Regions from separate parts of the Homo sapiens genome. Here regions 2 and 3 are each linked to region 1. The links are contacts of gene promoters, found by promoter capture Hi-C in blood cells and fetal thymus (Javierre and others, 2016). All regions are on one chromosome and are shown on one strand. The core of a region is centred on a gene start or on the middle of the fragment in contact, and the rest is flanking DNA. Distances in the headings are between cores, read along the strand shown.

Region 1 (3,202 bases), core at 230-2,729:
ATTGAGGGAAGACTGGACTTTGTGCTGTTCATAACCTGATTAAGAGGGGTTTTGACTAAGCCTGGGCACCTTCTCAAGGTCTCCTTGAGAAAGGGACACCTGAACTGAGAGCTGAAGAATGAGCAGGGGCCGACAGAGGAAGAGGAAGGGAAGAGTGTCCCACGGTGGTGTTGGAAATTAAAGCTCGAAGTCTCAAGGAAAACCAGCACTGAAATAAAAGATTTTTCAGCAAAGCCAATTTACTTCTGCAGAAGGGTGCCACTCACACATCTGGTCTTCAGGAAAGCACACCGAACAAAAGAGAGAAGGGGTTTTTATCCCTAATGCGGTTAGTCGCTGCTTCTGTGTCCTGTTCCCATTGGCTGGGGCTGGACTGCGCAATCTAAGCTAATCCCGATTGGCTAGTTCAAATGGAGCAGAAATGTGGGCTACAGTGGTAGGGCAAGCGGTTTCGGCAGGAAGAAGAGTTTCCGCGGGAATGGCAATTGTAGCGAGGGTATCCAAGGGAACAGATGTGAGTTATAGATTAGGACCCGCGGGAAGGTTGTTTACCGTAACTAGGGGTAAGGAGGTACAAAGAACAAGGAAGTTAGGCTTTGAAAATAGAGAACAAAGAACAAGTAAGCTGAACAAGTAAGTTCCTCTTTGGAGAGGCAAGAGGGCAAAGAAGCTGAGGACCCAGAAGACAGGATTGTGCCTAAGAAAGTGGCCTTGGAGCAGAGGCCCAAAGAAAGCGGGGAGAGCGCCTTGCCCATCGGTAAGGGAAAGGTGCTCCAGGCACAGAAGCAGCTAATGCAACGGCCCTGAGGCAAATGCAAGATAACTGGCAAGTTCCAGGAACAGCAAGGAGGGCAAGGCGCCTGGAGCAGAGGAAGCTAGCGGATCCCTTGATGAGAGGGAGGAACTGGCCCATCTCTCATGGGTCCTGCAGGCAGGCCATGAGACTGTCTTTTATGCGGGGCGAGATAACGAGGCATGGACGTGTTGTGAGCGGAGGCCTAGCCTGTTCAAGGTCTGAATTTTTACCCCTAGAATGTAAGAAGCATGGGAGCAGGGACTTTGTTTTGCTCCCTGCCATATCCACAGCCCTAGAAAAACGTCGGGCCATTGATAGCTCTCAGTAAATGCTTGACAAGTAAGTGAATGAACGAATGCACAATTAATGAAATGAGGGCTGCGTCAATGAATAACTGGGAATCTGACTCCTGCAGGGAGCCTTCAGCCCACAGGTGTATGTAAGACCCGCCCCGCCTCTCATCCTTCGGGCTCCCACCCCCGCCGTTAGGCTGCGGTTCGCGCCGCGGTCGCCAGAGGGCGCGGAGCGGCGGGGCTTCCCGCACGGAGGGCTTTGCGTGAGGCACCGCGTGGGGCGGGGCTGCGGGCGGGCTCCCAGCTGCTGGGCCCTCATCGGCTGGGCCTCGTCGACCGGCAAGCGGAACGCGGCAGCGGGGCTGGGCCTGTGCGGCGGCCGCCGGAGCGCTTTGGAAGGCGCACGGGGCGAAGATGGCGGCGGAGCGACAGGAGGCGCTGAGGGAGTTCGTGGCGGTGACGGGCGCCGAGGAGGACCGGGCCCGCTTCTTTCTCGAGTCGGCCGGCTGGGACTTGCAGGTAGCGCCGCGCGGCGGGCTGTGTCGGGTGGGCCGGGGACTGCTGGGAGCGGGCGCCTGGTGCCTTAAGCCCGCGGCGGCCGAAGCGCACAGTCATCCCCGCTCTACCGCGGCCCGACCCAGGCCTCATGGTCCCGGGACCGCTTGTCACGCGTCGCCTGCTCGGCTTGGGAGTGGGGGAACGCGGGCCAGCCCCAGCCAGTTCTGCCGTGCCAGTTTCACCCTGCCTCGCCCGCTTGCGGCGTCAGCGAGACTTCGGGCGCTGCGGCAGCCGGCGAGGAGAGGGAGCGCCTGGGGGCGTGGCTGCCGCGCCGAGTATCTGCTGGAGGCCGGGCTGGTCCGAGTGAGCAGCTCTTGGGTGAAGCCCCACTCGGGACTAGGTGGCCGCTCATTTCCACTTCCGAAGTCCAGCCCGGGAGTTGACCGCCGCCCAGCCTTCCTAATTGCTGGGAGAATACCTCTGGGGTGGTGGCGCAAGGTTGGAGCTTCTTCACCTTGCGTAGTTAACTTATCTGTAAAATGGGAGTCTCGTGGAAATTGCTGTGTAGTTCATTGGCACGTACTGAGTATTCACTAAATACTTGCTAAGAAGACTTAAGCTTCACGAGGCAGGGATTTTTGTACACTGATGAATTCCCAGTGCCTGGAACAATGCCTGGCACATAATAAGCATTCGGTAATTAACTGTAGAAAGAATTGCATAAATATTCTTGGCCAGCTTCGTCTTAGGTAGATGATGACGGTGATGACTAATATTTATTGAGTACCTACCATGAGCCAAGCGCTGTTCTGACTGCTTTACATGTCTTTTGTCATTTAACCTTCGCATTTTGCAGCTGAGATTAAAGAGGTTAAGTAACTTGCTCAAGGCCTCACTAGCTACCAGGCAGAAGAGGTAGAAGTGGAACCCAGTTCTGTCTGATTGCAAGCAGACAGAGCCCAAGCTTTAAACCACCATGTGCCAAGCACTTTACATAATATGATTCGTTGGATCCTAGCAACACTATGAGGTAAAGACTAGACCCATTTTATGGATGAGGAATTGGAAGCACAGAGGGCAAAGAATTTGCTCAGGGTCACATAGCCAGTAAGTAGCGGGGTTGGAATTTGAACTGAGTCTGCTGCCAAACGTAAATTACTCCCCAAACATAAGAATTCGGTAAAGCATCACACCTAGATCACACCTAGACACAATGGGAAGCCCCTATGCTGGGCAGAAATAAAAAGTTTCTACCTGAAAGACCTAAAAGCACACAGTGTTGTGACCAACAGATCTTCTGTCTCGTTCCCCTCACATTGTAGTGGGGAAACTGAGGATCATGCATGTGACTTGCCTGGCAGGAACAGGACTTGAATGTAGGCTCCCTGAGAATGCCAGTTCACTACATGGCCTGAGACAGCACACTGCCTCCCAGCAGATTACTTTTATCCCTTGACAGCTCACTGTCTCCTGTGAAGTTGGTGACCCTGAGGACAGAGGCCATGTCTATTTCATCTCTGTGACCTCAATGCTTTCTTGTGTTTGTGCAAAGCAAGTGATTAGTGAATGCCTGTCCGTTGAGTTGGTGACAGAGATGTCACAAATGACCAAAGGA
Region 2 (3,202 bases), core at 279-2,778, 310 kb before region 1:
CAATGGAAATCCTGATTCATCACCATTCCCTTCCTATCCCAACTTGGTCCTTCTCCAGATCTTCCCAGCTCAAAAAGTAGAGCTACCACCCACACAGCTGCTCTAGAGAAAACCTGGGAATTGTTGATCCAGAATTCATTCTGTCCCTCACCCCCCATCCCGCCCATCACTGAGTCCTGTGGGCTGTATCTTCCAAATGTGTCTCGAGCCTCCTTTTCTCACCACCCTAGTCCAGGCTACCATCACCTTGGCCTGGAGGTCTGTACCAGCTTCCCCACTGGTCTCCCTGCTTCCATTCCTGCCACGCTCCTTCCCATTCTCCACACAACAACCCCAGTTATCCTCTAAAAAATGTACATCAGACCACTTTGCCCCTCTGTTAAAGTCTCTGCTGGTTTCCCATCACTCTCAGAATAGAATCAAGATCATCACCATGGTCCCCAGGCTCTTCTCACTCTGGACCTCTTTGCCATGACACTAGGGTCCCCTACAGACTTCTCAGTTTCTCAAGCCCACCAAGCCCTTCCTGCCTGAGGTCCTTCTCTCCTGCTGTCCCCGCTGTCTGGAATGTCCTTCCTCTGTCCCTTCCCATTGCTGGCTCCTATTCATTCCTGAGTTTCAGCTCAATGATGTCACCTCCTCAAGTAATTCTTCCCCAGCTGCCCTTCTAGAATAAGTCCTCCCTGTATTCTCCATCTATGCAGTCTTTGGGTTTCCTTGATGGCACTGGGATCAGTCATAATCACATTTGCATTTGCTTGTTTTCTTATGATCAAATGCCGATATGCTGCCTGAAGACAGAATCAGACACAGCATATAGTAGGCCCCCAGGGCCTGACACAGCTCTGGTGCCACTGGTGCCTGTGGGGTGTGTCCCACTCTCAGTGTACAATCACAATTGCTCTTTCCTTAGCTGGACAGCCCTTCATCTCTCTGACTGGTCCATCTCACAGGACAAGCCCTGGAGACTCAGTGCCTTTCAACTGTACTGCTGTCCCCTTCAACTCCCAGGACTTCTCCCGGGACTTCAATGTTACGTGGTTGAAGGACAGTGATGAACATCCAGCCTCAGCTCAGCGCCTGGTGCCTGACAATGGAGGCAATGACTTCATCACCAGCAAGGCATGGGTGACACTGACCCGACAGGATGTCTCATCTGAGATCACCTGCGAAGTCACCCACAGGGCCCTGGCAGAGCCCCTGAAAACAACCATGAATCTCTCCCAAGTGCTCTGAGGTGAATGGGCAGTCAGGTGGGGTGGACATTAACCCTGGAAGCATCCAGCTTTCAGGGTTTTTGCCCAAAGCCTCATTTCATAAATGGGGAAATGAAATTCCTCATGGATTTCTGATCATGTGTATTGTGGTTATAAGCGCAGGTTCCAGGGGCTCGCTGTCTGGGTTTTAATCCTAGCTGTGCCACTTTACAACTTGTGGGATCTTGTGAGTTACTTGACTATTTAATACCAGTTTCTTTATATAACAGGAAAAAAATGAGGACCTACTTCATAGCTGTCCTGTGAAGATTAAATGAATTATTCCTTATAAAACACACATAACAGTGCCTGGCATGCAGTGACTTACTTACGAATGTTTGATCTTGTTATTATCTGGTCCCAGACTCCCTTTCTAAACATCTTTGTTCTATTAATGTCATTGTTACAGTTTTTTTTTTAAATGTTTATTATTCATTTAATAATAATGAATATCCACTGTATGCCAGACCCTGTGCTCAGTGCTGGGGATGCAGCAACGAGCAAAATAAAGTCCCTGTCGTCATGGGCATCACCTTTTACTAATTCTTAAAATTATATTTTCTGATATGAAATATTTCAAAAATACAGAATATAGCAGACACCCAGGTACCCTTACCCATATTTAATGAATATTAACATTTAGCCCTATTTGCTTTACATTACGCATACAAGAAAAAAATATTTCTTTAAAAAAAGGCGAGAGACCTTGAGGCTGTTCCCTGGGAGAGGGAAGCATGGGTGGCCACAGGCAGGGGCTGATTTCACCAGGTCTTACTTCCTATTCCTCTGTCTAGTTGTCCCCACCCTGAAGATCACCACTGAAACCTCTGGGACCCATGTACATGTGCAAGACAGAGTGAATCTCACCTGCCACGTCCTCCACTTCTATCCCGCCCACCTGCGACTCACCTGGATGGAGAACAGGAGCATGATCCAGACCCTGGTGTCCCCTCGTCCCCTCAGGCCACCAGAAATCCAGATGGGACATACTCTCTGGAGCACACGTGGCAGGCAGAGGCCACGCTGGAGGAGCGTGAGTTTGCTTGCTGGGTGGTCCACGATGAGCAGCCCCCACTCAAGGCCAACGTCACCCTGCAAGCCCAGGTGCGCAGGCAGGGGAAAGGTGGGTACAGCCTCTGGCCCAGCCCCTCTGGACATCCCCTGTGGGCAGCACGGCTGGGGAGGGTCAGAGACTCAGGGCGGCATTGGATGATGGTGAAGGAAGGAAGGATACCCGCAGCTGGTGATACAACTCTCACACATTCGCCCCCAGACTCCACTTCTCACGCCTTCCTCCACACCCTCCCCAAGAAGAAAGGGTGGGACTCCCCTTCCCTAATTCCATGCATTCTTGATGTTGAAAGTTCTCCACCTTAACACTTGACTGCAAGAAATGGCAGAGGTTAAGGACTGCTGAGCACCAAAGTGCCTTCTAGAAAGGCTATTAATCAAGACTGGCACAGTTGAAAGTTTCTGGATGGCAACTTTAAACAGAGGCCAGAATTCTGAATTCAGCTGGAAAAGAGGGTCCATGCACGGCCTTACGTAGGGTCAGGGCAGGCCCTTACACGGGGTCAGGACAGACCCTTACATGGGGTCAGGACAGGCCCTTACACGGGGTCAAACAGATCCTCCTCCTCCTTTCCCTTTCCTTTTCCCCCTCACTTTCCTTCTCCTTCCATCCTTCTCTTTTTCCTTGTCCTCTTCACTTTCTCTCTTTTTTGAGTATTTTTATATTATCTTATTATTATTTTTTTAACTTTGGTTTTAGGTCTGGGCCCATGTGCAGGTTTTTACATAGGTAAACTGTGTTGGGGGCAGTTTGGTGTACAGCCTCTGTTATTTTTTGACTTTTTAATAATAGCCATTCTGGCTGGTGTGGGATGGTATCTCATTGTGGTTTTAATTTGCATTTCTTTAATGATTAGCGATGAACATTCTTTCAC
Region 3 (3,202 bases), core at 325-2,824, 280 kb before region 1:
TGGCCTAAGGCAGCAGAGCAAAAAGAGGCAGGGCTGCACCCAGGGCAGCTGCACTTCCTCCAGTGGTGGGACAATTAATCTGTAGAAGTCCCATCTCATTACACATGACTTTCCTATAAATATTGAGAGTCTCCATCAGCCAACACAGTTTTCTATGAAGTCTGGCCATATCGCAGTCACTTCAAGGAGTCTGATCCATGTCGTTACAGATATCCCAGTGAAGGGCTAAATAAAGCTTAGTTCATGATTTTTGCAAGTGAGAATGGAATAAAAGCTAATCAGATTCAAGGTTTGGTTATCCTTTGAACTCAACATTATGTTCTTGACAACTGATAAAAGCAAAAGAATTTAGACATACATCTTGCCCAAGCAGAACTAGTTTGGAAGGCTTTCAGGGAAAAGGCTGTTTAGAAGCATGAGACCAGAATGGGGAGCACTTGTGTGTACATTTCTACTCAAGTTTTTCCATTTTCCTTCTCTAACATCTTCTTTTGTCATAATCATTGTTTCTCTTTTTTTTTAATTTATTTTTATTTTTTATTTTTTTATTATACTTTAAGTTTTAGGGTACATGTGCACATTGTGCAGGTTAGTTACATATGTATACATGTGCCATGCTGGTGCGCTGCACCCACTAACTCGTCATCTAGCATTAGGTATATCTCCCAATGCTATCCCTCCCCCCTCCCCCGACCCCACCACAGTCCCCAGAGTGTGATATTCCCCTTCCTGTGTCCATGTGATCTCACTGTTCAATTCCCACCTATGAGTGAGAATATGCGGTGTTTGGTTTTTTGTTCTTGCGATAGTTTACTGAGAATGATGGTTTCCAATTTCATCCATGTCCCTACAAAGGACATGAACTCATCATTTTTTATGGCTGCATAGTATTCCATGGTGTATATGTGCCACATTTTCTTAATCCAGTCTATCATTGTTGGACATTTGGGTTGGTTCCAAGTCTTTGCTATTGTGAATAATGCCGCAATAAACATACGTGTGCATGTGTCTTTATAGCAGCATGATTTATAGTCCTTTGGGTATATACCCAGTAATGGGATGGCTGGGTCAAATGGTATTTCTAGTTCTAGATCCCTGAGGAATCGCCACACTGACTTCCACAAGGGTTGAACTAGTTTACAGTCCCACCAACAGTGTAAAAGTGTTCCTATTTCTCCACATCCTCTCCAGCACCTGTTGTTTCCTGACTTTTTAATGATTGCCATTCTAACTGGTGTGAGATGATATCTCATAGTGGTTTTGATTTGCATTTCTCTGATGGCCAGTGATGATGAGCATTTTTTCATGTATTTTTTGGCTGCATAAATGTCTTCTTTTGAGAAGTGTCTGTTCATGTCCTTCGCCCACTTTTTGATGGGGTTGTTTGTTTTTTTCTTGTAAATTTGTTTGAGTTCATTGTAGATTCTGGATATTAGCCCTTTGTCAGATGAGTAGGTTGCGAAAATTTTCCCCCATGTTGTAGGTTGCCTGTTCACTCTGATGGTAGTTTCTTTTGCTGTGCTGAAGCTCTTTAGTTTAATTAGATCCCATTTGTCAATTTTGGCTTTTGTTGCCATTGCTTTTGGTGTTTTGGACATGAAGTCCTTGCCCACGCCTATGTCCTGAATGGTAATGTCTAGGTTTTCTTCTAGGGTTTTTATGGTTTTAGGTCTAACGTTTAAATCTTTAATCCATCTTGAATTGATTTTTGTATAAGGTGCAAGGAAGGGATCCAGTTTCAGCTTTCTACATATGGCTAGCCAGTTTTCACAGCACCATTTATTAAATAGGGAATCCTTTCCCCATTGCTTGTTTTTCTCAGGTTTGTCAAAGATCGGATAGTTGTAGGTATGTGGCGTTATTTCTGAGGGCTCTGTTGTGTTCCATTGATCTATATCTCTGTTTTGGTACCAGTACCATGCTGTTTTGGTTACTGTAGCCTTGTAGTATAGTTTGAAGTCAGGTAGTGTGATGCCTCCAGCTTTGTTCTTTTGGCTTAGGATTGACTTGGCGATGCGGGCTCTTTTTTGGTTCCATATGAACTTTAAAGTAGTTTTTTCCAATTCTGTGAAGAAAGTCATTGGTAGCTTGATGGGGATGGCATTGAATCTGTAAATTACCTTGGGCAATATGGCCATTTTCACGATATTGATTCTTCCTACCCATGAGCATGGAATGTTCTTCCATTTGTTTGTATCCTCTTTTATTTCCTTGAGCAGTGGTTTGTAGTCCTCCTTGAAGAGGTCCTTCACATCCCTTGTAAGTTGGATTCCTAGGTATTTTATTCTCTTTGAAGCAATTGTGAATGGGAGTTCACTCATGATTTGGCTCTCTGTTTGTCTGTTGTTGGTGTATAAGAATGCTTGTGATTTTTGTACATTGATTTTGTATCCTGAGACTTTGCTGAAGTTGCTTATCAGCTTAAGGAGATTTTGGGCTGAGACAACGGGGTTTTCTAGATAAACAATCATGTCGTCTGCAAACAGGGACAATTTGACTTCCTCTTTTCCTAATTGAATACCCTTTATTTCCTTCTCCTGCCTGATTGCCCTGGCCAGAACTTCCAACACTATGTTGAATAGGAGCGGTGAGAGAGGGCATCCCTGTCTTGTGCCAGTTTTCAAAGGGAATGCTTCCAGTTTTTGCCCATTCAGTATGATATTGGCTGTGGGTTTGTCATAGATAGCTCTTATTATTTTGAAATACGTCCCATCAATACCTAATTTATTGAGAGTTTTTAGCATGAAGGGTTGTTGAATTTTGTCAAAGGCTTTTTCTGCATCTATTGAGATAATCATGTGGTTTTTGTCTTTGGCTCTGTTTATATGCTGGATTACATTTATTGATTTGCGTATATTGAACCAGCCTTGCATCCCAGGGATGAAGCCCACTTGATCATGGTGGATAAGCTTTTTGATGTGCTGCTGGATTTGGTTTGCCAGTATTTTATTGAGGATTTTTGCATCAATGTTCATCAAGGATATTGGTCTAAAATTCTCTTTTTTGGTTGTGTCTCTGCCCGGCTTTGGTATCAGAATGATGCTGGCCTCATAAAATGAGTTAGGGAGGATTCCCTCTTTTTCTATTGATTGGAATAGTTTTAGAAGGAATGGTACCAGTTCCTCCTTGTACCTCTGGTAGAATTCGGCTGTGAATCCATCTGGTCCTGGACTCTTTTTGGTTGGTAAACTATTGATTATTG

The links. The method cuts DNA at HindIII sites, captures the fragments that hold promoters and counts their contacts. A CHiCAGO score of 5 or more calls a contact.
Region 2: a fragment that was not itself captured here is called in contact with the fragment with the promoter of NSFL1C in region 1 in 2 of 17 cell types (activated CD4 T cells and total CD4 T cells); the score reaches 7.5 in activated CD4 T cells.
Region 3: a contact is called between a fragment that was not itself captured here and the fragment with the promoter of NSFL1C in region 1, in 1 of 17 cell types (total CD4 T cells). The highest score is 5.2, in total CD4 T cells.

Annotation. Positions count from the first base shown.
Region 1 is chr20:1,465,126-1,468,327 of GRCh38, reverse strand. NSFL1C (NSFL1 cofactor) reads left to right here and starts at 1,479. Exons shown (of 9, transcript NM_016143.5): 1 at 1,479-1,608. The coding sequence starts at 1,504. RefSeq lists a silencer at 1,185-1,454 and an enhancer at 1,749-2,250. The HindIII fragment of the contact is 14,006 bases long and covers 1-2,208 here.
Region 2 is chr20:1,777,697-1,780,898 of GRCh38, reverse strand. It overlaps the pseudogene LOC100289473. Among named protein-coding and RNA genes, the nearest start is that of SIRPA, 120 kb to the left of the region's middle. The HindIII fragment of the contact is 6,303 bases long and covers 1-3,202 here.
Region 3 is chr20:1,742,366-1,745,567 of GRCh38, reverse strand. No RefSeq gene overlaps it. Among named protein-coding and RNA genes, the nearest start is that of SIRPG, 86 kb to the right of the region's middle. The HindIII fragment of the contact is 2,674 bases long and covers 238-2,911 here.